3 separate regions of the Homo sapiens genome follow, and regions 1 and 3 are each linked to region 2. The links are contacts of gene promoters, found by promoter capture Hi-C in blood cells and fetal thymus (Javierre and others, 2016). All regions are on one chromosome and are shown on one strand. The core of a region is centred on a gene start or on the middle of the fragment in contact, and the rest is flanking DNA. Distances in the headings are between cores, read along the strand shown. Region 1 overlaps NUP98 (nucleoporin 98 and 96 precursor). Region 2 holds the start of STIM1 (stromal interaction molecule 1). Region 3 overlaps NUP98 (nucleoporin 98 and 96 precursor).

Region 1 (3,499 bases), core at 876-3,375, 94 kb after region 2:
AAAACTTTAAAAAGTGAATTCCCTATTCAGCAAGTCTATTAGCACAATATTTTTCCTTTATTAATGCATAAGTAAAATACATTGTTAAACATAGGATGATGCAGACTGCTCATTGGAAATGAGTATAGTTTCTCATTTAGAATTAAGGCTTTTGGCTGGGTGCAGTGGCTCACGCCAGCATTTTGGGAGGCTGAGGCAGGTGGATCCCCTGAGGTCAGGAGTTCGTGACCAGCCTGGGCACATTGTGAAACCCCATCTCTACTAAAAATGCAAAAATTAGCCAGGCCTGGTGGCGTGCCCTTGTAGTCCCAGCTACTTGGGAGGCTGAGGCGAGAGAATCACTTGAACAGAGGCTGCAGTGAGCCGAGATTGTGCCACTGTACTTCAGCCTGGGCAACAGAACGAAACTCCGTATCAAAAAAAGGAATTAAGGCTCTTTAACATAACACTCGTACCTCGGTCCGTGTTGATTTATTTTCGCTGATTATTTTTGGTTACTTGATTCTAAGTTCACTCCCCAGCTTGATACTGATTAGTTCTTTTCACCTAAATCGTTGAAAATGAAGGACCTAGACATACTATTTTGCTTCTCAGTGTTGCAACCCTGACATCTCTTAGAGCACAAGAGTTAAAGTCTTATTATTTAATAGACGCCTAAGACCTTGGAGTTCATCATCCTGGGAAGAACAGGGGCTTAAATATAGGTTTGAACTTCTGTTCCTACCATTCAGGAGCTGTGGCACCTTGGGCAAGTTTTAAAATGCTCTGAGCTTTTTGAAAAATATACTCCCTGCTTTTCAGGGTTGTTTTGAAGGAAATAATCTATATAAGTTATTTAGCCTAATATCTGTCATATAAGCTTGAAAAAATGGTAACTTTTTTTTTATTACTCTGAGATTCGTTACGGAAACTATTACAGGATATCTTTTAATCTATATAAACTTCTTTGCAGGGATTATTTGGAGTAACCCAAGCCTCACAGCCTGGAGGTCTTTTTGGGACAGCTACAAACACCAGCACTGGGACAGCATTTGGAACAGGAACAGGTCTCTTTGGGCAGACCAATACTGGATTTGGTGCTGTTGGTTCGGTAGGTTTCTGCAGTTGACTGTAATTTGAAGATGTGTGTAAATTTGTTAAAAGGAATTTTCTTCTAAGGATTTGACTGTTTTGCAGGTATTTTTATTGGGTGTATTATTGCACCAGCCTAATATGATTTGATTCTGAGAACAAAAAATTATTTGATATAAAATGAAATTTCAGGTTAACTTCAGGTTTGTTTTCAATTAGTAAATTCTTTCCCTTTTAAAATTTCTTTGCCTCAGTGCTTATGTGCATCATACTTCTGATAGCATTGGTTAAATTGTTGAGTCTAAATTGAAATTCTTTTGCTTTATTTGAATCAGATAATTTTTAACTCCTAGTTCTTCCCTCTTTTGTAGGTGATAAATTGGTATGATGTTTGGGAATGAAATGTTTTTGGGGTTGATCAAATTGTTGAAATTGTTGAGGTACTCATGGAAGAAACTTTGAACTTGCTATTGTGAGTAGGTTAAAAAAATTAAAAAAGAGCCAGGCGCGGTGGCTCACGCCTGTAATCCCAGCACTCTGGGAGGCCGAGGTGGGTGGATCACCTGAGGTCAGGAATTCGAGACCAATCTGGCCAACATGGTGAAACCCCGTCTCTCCTAAAAATACAAAAAAAAAAAAAACCACTAGCTGGGTGTGGTGGTGGGTGCCTGTAATACCAGCTACTTGAGATGCTGAGGCAAGAGAATCACTTGAACCCAGGAAGTGGAGGTTGCAGTGACCCGAGATCGCGCTATTGCACTCTAGCCTGGGCAACAAGAGCAAAACTCTGTCTTAAAAAATAAAAAAGGAACACAAAGTCCCTAAAACATATGGTCCTGTTTTCATGGAGATTGAAATTTCTCTTTTCTTTTTTTAAACTTTGGACAGATAATTGAGGTAAGAAATTGAGAAAATTATATAATGCTTCAAGACATTCTAGTACTTCTGTTGTTGTTGTTGTTGTTGTTGTTGTTTTTGAAACCGAGTCTCGTTCTGTTGTCCAGGCTGTACTGCAGTGGCATGATCTCGGCTCACTGCAACCTCTCCCTCCCAGGCTCAAGCGATTCTCGTGCCTCAGCCTCCCAAGTAGCTGGGATTACAGGCGTGTGACACCATGCCAGGCTTTTGTTTTGTTTTTTGTTTTGTTTTGTTTTGTTTTTTTGAGACGGAGTCTCGCCTGTTGCCCAGGCTGGAGTACAGTGGCGTGCGATCTCGGCTCACTGCAACCTCTGCCTCCCGGGTTCAAGCAGTTCTCTGCCTCAGCCTCCCGAGTAGCTGGGATTACAGGCGCCCGCCACTGCGCCCAGCTGATTTTTGTATTTTTAGTAGAGAATGGGGTTTCACCATGGTGGCCAGGCTGGTCTCGAACTCCTGACCTCGTGATCCACCTGCCTTGGACTCCGAAAGTGCTGGGATTACAGACGTGAGCCACCACTCCTGGCCTTAATTTTTGTATTTTTTAGTAGAGGTGGGATTTTGCCACGTTGGCTAGGCTGGTAACTCCTGGCCTCAAGGATCCTTCCGCCTTGGCCTTTCAGAATGCTGGGATTACAGGCGTGAGCTACTGTGCCCGGCTTCTAGTACTTTCTAGTGACAGATTTATTGATGTATAGTCCACATGCCATACAATTTGTCTCTTTAAAGTGTATAGCTAGGTGATTTTTAGTATATCAACAAAGTGTGCAACTATCACCATATTTAATTTTAGAACATACTCATTATGCCAAAAAGAAATGCCATAGTCATTGGCAGTCACTCCTGATTTTCCTGTAATCATCTTAAGCCTACTTTCTCTCTATGGATTTGACCATTTTGAACACTTCATGTAAATGGAATCATAATATGTGGTCTTTTGTGATTGATGTCTTTCACTTAGCATAGCATTTTCAAGGAACATCCATGTAGCATGTTCAAAGTTTTTCTTGTAGTGATTTCTTCTGGCAAAGCAAGTATTTGCTACATTTCTCTTAACAGGTAAAAAGATATTTGATGGCCTTGTTATTTTTTTCTTTGCCTCACTGAAATCTGGTTTCATTGGATTCATTGTGTTTCAGTCGTAATCCTTAGGGGTTACCATTAACTTTTCAGGCCAGAAGCATTCCGTGTTTATAAAGTTAATCTTGCCCAGATTATTTTTTGATAGCCTTTATTCATCTTTTTTCTACCTTTTTTATGAATGTTAGGACATCTTTCTCCCACCCCATACCCAACCCAGTATACCTGAGGTAACCTGTATTTAGTTTGGTGTGTGTCTTAATATTATTTTAAATTTTCCTGTATTCTATTCTTTTTAGACCCTGTTTGGCAATAACAAGCTTACTACATTTGGAAGCAGCACAACCAGTGCACCTTCATTTGGTACAACCAGTGGCGGGCTCTTTGGTAACAAACCAACCCTGACTTTAGGAACCAATACAAACACTTCTAA
Region 2 (3,613 bases), core at 904-3,403:
GGTATTGCCCAATAAAGGGTCTACCACCAAAGCCAGCTTCTGGATCCATCCATGAAACTCCCCAGCCACCATGACCTATATTTCCTTTTCTGACTTGTATCAGCAGGTGCCCACTGAGCCATTCCCTCATTTGAACTTGCTTATGCTCAGAAACAACTCATCTATAAACTCTCCCCACACTGCAGGTCACAGCTTTGGGCAGATCACAGCCAAAGGGTGAGAGAAATGGGAAAAGAGAACTGATCTCGTAAGCCTTATGTAAAATGACTGGATTTTAATAGAGTTCCTTGATGGGTACAGTGGCTCACACCTGTAATCCCAGCACTTTGGGAGGGATCCCTGCACAACACAGAGAGACAGTGTCTGTTCAAAAAATTAAAAATAGAAAGAAAAAAAAAGTTAGCCAGGCCCAGTGGCTCTTGTGTTTAGTCCCAGCTACCGGGAGGCTGAGGCAGGAGGATCACTTGAACCCAGGAGTTTGAGGCTGTAGTGAGCTGTGATCACACTACTGCATTCCAGCTTGGACGACAGATCAAGACCCTGTCTCAAAAAAACAAAACAAAACATAAAAGTGTTCCTTTCTACTGCAAAAGTATACCAGGGCTCCTGCTGCCTGATAAGCCTTCACAACTGCATAGGAAAAACCATGACAGATCAAAAGTAGCATGGTTTCCCTAGCAAGCAGACTCAGGGAAAAAAAAAAAAAAACAAAAAAAAAAACCTGTAGCATGGAATTCCCACCCTCATCAGTCAGAAGAAACAGAATAAGTCAACAAGTGGTCCCAGGAATTATATCATGTCTATGTCAAGAAAAGGCCATTTAACACCCTAGTTGTAAATAGGATTCCATCTAAGAAACCGCCTGGATATTTCAAATGCGCACAGCAAAGAGACAAGACTACCTAAGGGAAGGGTGGGACTAGGGTTCCCACGGTTGTTGGAATAGGCACACCTGAACACCAGGCTTTCAGGCAACAGAGGTGGCCCAGCCTTAACTTTCCCTTTCCAACATAAGTGGCCCCAACCTCCCCCATGCTGCTCAGTACTAAAACCGAATAGGAGCAATGAACTTATCATCTCACCAGGCCATTCTTCCAGACAAGTAGGCCTAAGATGGGGTCTTTCCTTGCTGATCTAAAAGGTCAAGTTGCCCCAAAGGCTTCTTCTTACTGCCAACAAAAAAAATCCTGAGTGCGGGGGATGAGGAAAGTTGTTCAGGAAAGATACAGGCATTTGCCATGACTACTGACCAGAAAGAACTTCTTGAACTACTTGGAACAGGCAGTGCCATGTGTGAATCCTCCATGAACCTCACATGTACAAACCTAGATTTCAACTTGCCCACTTCGGGCCACTCAGTCCTGAGCCAAAGCCTCCAGCCCAGTCCAGCCCGCAGCAAGGCCTTACCTGCTGCAGTGGACTCCTCAGAGTTGGCCCCCGAGCTGGTTCCTGTCGCCTTCTCACTGTGACTATGGCTGAGGCTCTGGCCCTGGTGCAGGAGGAGTCCCCAGAGGAGCCACAGGGCAAGACGGACGCATACATCCATGACTCTAGGTCTCAGTCAACATGCGTCTGATGTGGACACCTCGGGATCCCAGAGGCAAAGCCAGGAGCCCGGGAGTGCAGCCGACGGTCTCCAGGCAAGATGCCCTCGCGGCTCCGCAGCTGTCCAGCCACCCGCGAGCCTGCCCCCTCCAACAGCCAAAGGTCAAGTGCTCCAAGTTTGGGTGCGGGAGGAGGGCTGGCTCCTCAGGTCCAACAGTGGGTCCGCCGGGGCTGCGGCGGCCTGAGCTCGTGCCGCTTCCGGAGACTTCGGGCAGGGTGGCTGCGGGGCTGCTGTCAGCTCCGCAGATTACTACACCCCTGCGGAAGGGGGCGGCCGGAGTCTCCGCGGGCACAGAAGTGGAGGAGGAAGAGAAGAGAAGAGAAGAGAGGCGAGAAGGGGGCACCTGACCTCGCCCTGCCGAAGAGCGGCGAGCAGCAGAAGCTGGGGAGGGCGTGCGACCCGCAGGGTCCTGAGGGCGCGGGCGTCTCCGGGATCCTGGGCCTCCTAGGCCGAGGTCAGCGCCCCCGCCCAGTCCCGTGCCCAGGCGGCTGGCGGTGCCCAGGTCCAGCAGGCGGACGCACACCGGCCAGGCCCAGGACAGCGGCTTCCAGGCGGGCGGGCGGCGCGGGGCGGGCCCGGGGCGGGCGGGGGCGTGCGTCTCCGCGCCCGCCCCGCGCCGCCCGGTCCCCAGCGAAGCCCGGGCCAGCCCCAGCGCCCAGCTGGATCCCGGAATAACCGGTGAAGACGGCTCCCCGGAATCCCCGCCCCTAGCGGGCTCTCCCGGACCCCCGGCCCGCGCTAGTCTTTGCCAGGATCCCGCGCAAAGGATCAAGTCCCAGCTTCCCTTTCCCCACCGAGAGTCTCCAGCGCCAACCGCGGGCCGTCGGGCGGGTCCCTGACCCGCAGTTACTCAGGTAACTCAGGCCTGCGGCGGCGGCGACAGCAGCTGCCCTGCCCCGATCTCCGGGCCTTGGTGCTGCTCCACTCGCCTCAGTTCTAGAGCTGTCTAAACAGAGGCCCAGGACACGACGTTAGCCTCCCAGGAGCTGCCTGAGGCGACAACAGCCTGACCCGGCTCGGCCCGGGGGCGAGCTCCCAGCCCCCAACTCCCGGCCAGTTCCCAGGCTCCGCCCTCGCGCCTCGCCTGACAACCAATCGGCTTCCGCCTCTCTGCGGCTTGGGAACCCGCGCGCTTCGTCGCCCATGCGCAGCGGCCCCTGGTGGGAAAATCAGCAAACTGCAGACAGGACTCGGCGCTCCTGGGAGGGCCTGCTCTTTTGCAGAGGGTTGCCGAGTGAAGCTAAGACCCGCCCCGGGGGAGGCCCACGAGGGCCACTGGGGCCTGCGAGTGTTTTCTGAGGAAATGATGATGCCAGAAAGCAAAATGAAATGTCCAAACCACTCTAGCTAAAATTCCCCTACACATTCCTTGAGTCTGGGCTAAAGGGTGCCATCTGCTTTCCCGACCCCGCCTCCCTTCCCCTCCAAGCTAAGTGGGATGCCCTCCCTTAGCTCTCACAGCCCTTTTTCCTACCTGCCCTCAAGCTCTCAGCCCTTTAAGGTTTTTCGGTGGGGCCTGTAAATGCTTCCTCCCTGCATCTCATTCTCCCAGCTACCTCTCTGGTGGAGGAGGTGTCAGCGACTTGAGAATGAGTGCGCCAAAGAAGACAGAGCCACGCCTGAGCCTCCTTCAACAAAGCCTGCACTTCCTGTTCTCTTCTCAAGCGTGCTGTCAGCAGATCTTGACTGAAACCTCTGTGCCCTACCCTGTCCTTGGCACCAGACGCAGGGGAAAGGATCAGGCCCAGTCCCTCCTCTGACTGACAGTGCTAAACCAGCTACCTGTTCTGAGCAAGGCCCCTGAAGACTGGGAACACGAATTTGCCCAACAGCTGCCTGGCTTAAGGGTTAGGCCGTTGATATAAAAATACATGGCTAATGTAACCTACTACCACTCTCCCGGCTCTGTTAAGCTCCTGTCACACTAGCCTTCGTTAAGTTCCTAACCACGTCAAACTCAGCCACCTCACAGCCTTTGTATCTGCTGTTGCTTCTGCATGAAACACT
Region 3 (3,871 bases), core at 405-2,904, 120 kb after region 2:
CAGTGAGCCGAGATCGCGCTACTGCGCTCCAGCCTGAGTGACACAGCAAGACTCTGTCTCAAAAAAAAAATTGTTTTAATTTTATTTTTTTCTCATTTTTTATTGGTTTTAGTAGAAGGTGGTAGCATAAATTATTGTAATATGCCATTTTTACTTGTATAGCTTTTTGACTGGTTTTTAATAATCCATCTCTTTTTCCAAAGTTCCTGACACAAGAATTTAGTTAATATTAAATTTGTGTGCCTTAACATTACTGCCCATTTAAAGGTAATTGTATTTACTTTTAGAATGTACATCTTTATACCACGGAATCTTAGTTGAAGGTACTTTAGAACTATGTGAGTGTGCCTTGTCTTAAAAAAACCTCAGGTATGGTGGCTTCCTTACAGGCAGTACAGTCTGTTCTTCTGTTCTGGTTGTGTGGAAACCAAATCCTTCCTCCATAGAGTTTCCACCCAGTGGTTCTACTTTTATTTCCTAAAGCTAAGCAAAACCAGTCTAGTATGTATGGTTTCTTTTCTTTCTTTCCTTTTTTTTTTTTTTTTTTTTTTGAGAGGAGTCTTACTCTGTCACCCAGGCTGGAGTGCTGTGGCACCATCTTGGCTCACTGCAGCCTCTGCCTCTGGGTTCAGACAATTCTCCTGTCTCAGCCTCCTGCGTAGCTGGGACTACAGGTATGTGTCACCATGCCCGGCTAATTCTTGTATTTTTTAGTAGAGATAGAGGTTCACCATTTTGGCCAGGCTATTCTTGAAGTCCTGACCTGAAGTAATCTGCTTGCTCAGCTTCCCAAAGTGCTGGGATTACTGGCATGAGCCACCATGCCTTGCTGTAGTATATTTGTGGTAACCCACTGACTTTCTTCTGGATAAAGTATCATCAGATTCTTGTGTTTCATCAGAAGACTTGGTTTTTGTACTTTTCCCTATCCCTTTAATCATTTGGTTATGATTTAGTTTTTTGGAATCTTTTATTTTGAAATTTCTTTGGAATTTGTTCTTTGGAAAGTTTTCAAATTATTTTGACCAAGATTGAATGTAATACCAGTAGTTGCTTAACTAGTGCTTGTTTGTTTTCTTGTTTTTGCTAATCTATCAAGATACTCTCTTACCTGTGTCTTTAAATACTACAGTTAACACAAAGTTTATATTTATTCATACAGATATAAAATCATGCTCATGCACTTTCTTGTGTTTGGATTTGTGAAAGGAAGTCTTTGGTTTTTTTTTTTTTTTTTTTTGAGAACGCCCAGGTAGAATGATTTGTACTTGTTAAACGATGGGATCAACTAAGACAGGTCAGTTTTCTAAATGAGTAATTGCCTGTCCAGTAACAAAATGACCAGTGAGGTTTGGAGTTCTCTAAAGTTTTTCTTGAGTCTCCTTGCATAGTCCCCAAAATAGCAGTATGCTGTTAATCTGTAGTACTGTGTACCAAAAAAAAAAAAACTTTTCTTTATTTTTTGCTCTTAAATTGGATTTAGGAACTTTCTGAATACAGATGATTTACTCTGTGCTCTTAAAATTGACATCTCTTGGTTTGAGATCCTGAGCAAACTTGTCCTGTCTAGTTAAATATCAACATGAATGTACGGTGTTTTAGTATTTATTGAATACATCGATTTTAAGAAACCTTTGACTCTTCTTTTTCATTAATTTAGCTATAGCAGCCTGTTCTGTTTTTGTTTGTTTGTTTGTTTTTGAGACGGAATCTCGCTCTGTCGCCTAGGCTAGAGTGAAGTGGCACGACCTTGGCTCACTGCCAGCTCTGTATCCTGGGTTCACGCCATTCTCCTGCCTCAGCCTCCGGAGTAGCTGGGACTACAGGTGCCCACCACCATGCCTGGCTAATTTTTTCTATTTTGTTAGTAGAGACAGGGTTTCACCATGTTAGCCAGGATAGTCTCGATCTCCTGACCTTGTGATCCGCCTGCCTCGGCCTCCCAAAGTGCTGGGATTACAGGCATGAGCCACCACGCCCAGCCTCTTTTTTTTTTTTTTTTTTTTGTTATTACTGCTTTTGTTCTCCACCCACTCCCCACAACATTGTGAGACTTTTCAGAAAGTTTTATGTCACTCCTTTACTGTGGATTATTGTATTATATTTTGGCAGTAACTTTATTTGTAAATGTTTATAAGGGAAAAAGGTAGTATTTTTGTCTGTAAAATGACTTTATTATGTTTTGGGTTTTGATCAGTATTTTTGGAAAGAGATTTTATCTTGCAAAGAGGTTTCTTCTTCAGTCAGGGTATACTGTAGTGGTTTTGCTTTTTTCTTAATGTTTTACTTGGTACAATGGTAGATCATGAATAGTCTTCATTGTTACTTATGTCTGTTCCCTAAATTCTCTGCAATTGATAACAGATGTTCTTACACTTTGAGAAAAAATTAGGCTTAGTGATTTCTTTTTTCTTTCAGTTTATATTATGTGAATGTTAAATAAATGTAAATAATAAACTTATAAGGATAGCCTAAGCATTTTCTTCAGGAAGACACCTGGATTTGGGGGAAAAGAAAAAACCACATTTTTGTTTGTATGCTGCCTTCCTCTGTAGCCTTAATGTACATAATATTTTTATTCTGGAAATTTTACTTAAAGATAATTTCATATTTCCACAATGAAACAAATTATTATTTTTAATAACTACATAACCTATGTTGATGTGTCATGATGTTTACAACTTTTTTGTTTGTTTGTTTGAGGCAGAGTCTCGCTCTTTCACCCAGGCTGGAGTGCAGTGGCGCGATCTCGGCTCACTGAAACCTCCACTTCCTGGGTTCCAGCTGGGGTTATAGGTGTGCGCCCCCACGCCCAGCTAATTTTTTGTATTTTTAGTAGAGGTGGGGTTTCACTGTATTGGCCAGGTTGGTCTCAAACTCCTCACCTCAAGTGATCTGCTCGCCACGACCTCCCAGTGCTGGGATTACAGGCATGAGCCACTGCACCCCGCCTACAACTATTAACTTAATATTGGACACGTAGGTTGTTTCCATATCTTGACTGTATATATACTATGCAGTGAATGCTTAGGAATTTATTTTCTTTCTAGTTCGAGTTAAATTTTCATGATTAAAATTATGAGGTTAAAAAATAGAGGCCAGGCATGGTGGCTGACTCCTGTAATCCTGGCATTTTGGGAGGCCAAGGTGGGCAGATAGTTCAATTTCAGGAGTTCAAGACCAGCCTGGGCAACATGGCGAAACCCCATCTCTGAAAAAAAAAACAAAACACACACACACACACACACACAAAATTAGCTGTTGTTGGTGTGGTGACTCACCCCTGTAGTCCCAGCTACTTGGGAGTCTGAGGTTAGAGGATCACTTGAGCCTGGAGGCAGAGGTTGCAGCAAGCCAAGATCATGCCACTACACTCCAGCCTGGGTGTGTGTGTGTGTGTGTACACGCACAAACACACAGTACTTGTCCTGTTGTATATTGTCATATTATTTCCTTTGGACAATTACATACACGCACGCACACACACACACACAGTATTTGCCCTGTATACTGTCATATTATTTCCTTTAGACAATTACACACACACACACACACACACACACACACACACACACACACTACTTGCCCTGTATACTGTCGTATTATTTCCTTTAGACAAACCAGTCTATAATGTTTCTAGAAGTCAAAGACTATGGCTTTTTATGCAGCTATTTCAGTGATAGGTATGCATAAAATATTTCATCAGGGTTGTTTAAATTTTCCTTTCTTTGATTAGTAGTGACAGTGAACACTGTGTAAGTGAATTTATATGAGTATTGTATCTTATGAAATGTCTCTTCCTAAATTTGACCTATTAGCTTATTTGATTCTTGATTTTCTTTACAGTTTGCTCTACACACATTCTGCCCCA

Evidence for each region. The method cuts DNA at HindIII sites, captures the fragments that hold promoters and counts their contacts. A CHiCAGO score of 5 or more calls a contact.
Region 1: a fragment that was not itself captured here is called in contact with the fragment with the promoter of STIM1 in region 2 in 4 of 17 cell types (naive CD8 T cells, total CD4 T cells, naive B cells and 1 more); the score reaches 8.9 in naive CD8 T cells.
Region 3: a fragment that was not itself captured here is called in contact with the fragment with the promoter of STIM1 in region 2 in 1 of 17 cell types (activated CD4 T cells); the score reaches 5.2 in activated CD4 T cells.

The regions. Positions count from the first base shown.
Region 1 is chr11:3,760,493-3,763,991 of GRCh38, reverse strand. It overlaps NUP98 (nucleoporin 98 and 96 precursor), which reads left to right. Exons shown (of 33, transcript NM_016320.5): 9 at 953-1,090; 10 at 3,366-3,453. Among named protein-coding and RNA genes, the nearest start is that of NUP98, 35 kb to the left of the region's middle. The HindIII fragment of the contact is 2,527 bases long and covers 862-3,388 here.
Region 2 is chr11:3,854,204-3,857,816 of GRCh38, reverse strand. It overlaps STIM1 (stromal interaction molecule 1), which reads right to left and starts at 2,153. Exons shown (of 13, transcript NM_001382567.1): 1 at 1,408-2,153. The coding sequence starts at 1,546. It overlaps STIM1-AS1 (STIM1 antisense RNA 1), which reads left to right and starts at 2,239. Exons shown (of 2, transcript NR_183662.1): 1 at 2,239-2,460; 2 at 3,159-3,494. It overlaps MIR4687 (microRNA 4687), which reads right to left and starts at 1,755; the gene lies at 1,676-1,755. RefSeq lists enhancers at 1,238-1,287, 1,298-1,377, 1,528-1,737, 1,953-2,898, 3,108-3,177 and silencers at 1,958-2,117, 2,178-2,237, 2,718-2,767. The HindIII fragment of the contact is 6,805 bases long and covers 1-3,613 here.
Region 3 is chr11:3,735,457-3,739,327 of GRCh38, reverse strand. The region is part of intron 12 of NUP98 (nucleoporin 98 and 96 precursor); the gene reads left to right. Among named protein-coding and RNA genes, the nearest start is that of NUP98, 60 kb to the left of the region's middle. RefSeq lists a silencer at 3,262-3,462. The HindIII fragment of the contact is 4,702 bases long and covers 1-3,871 here.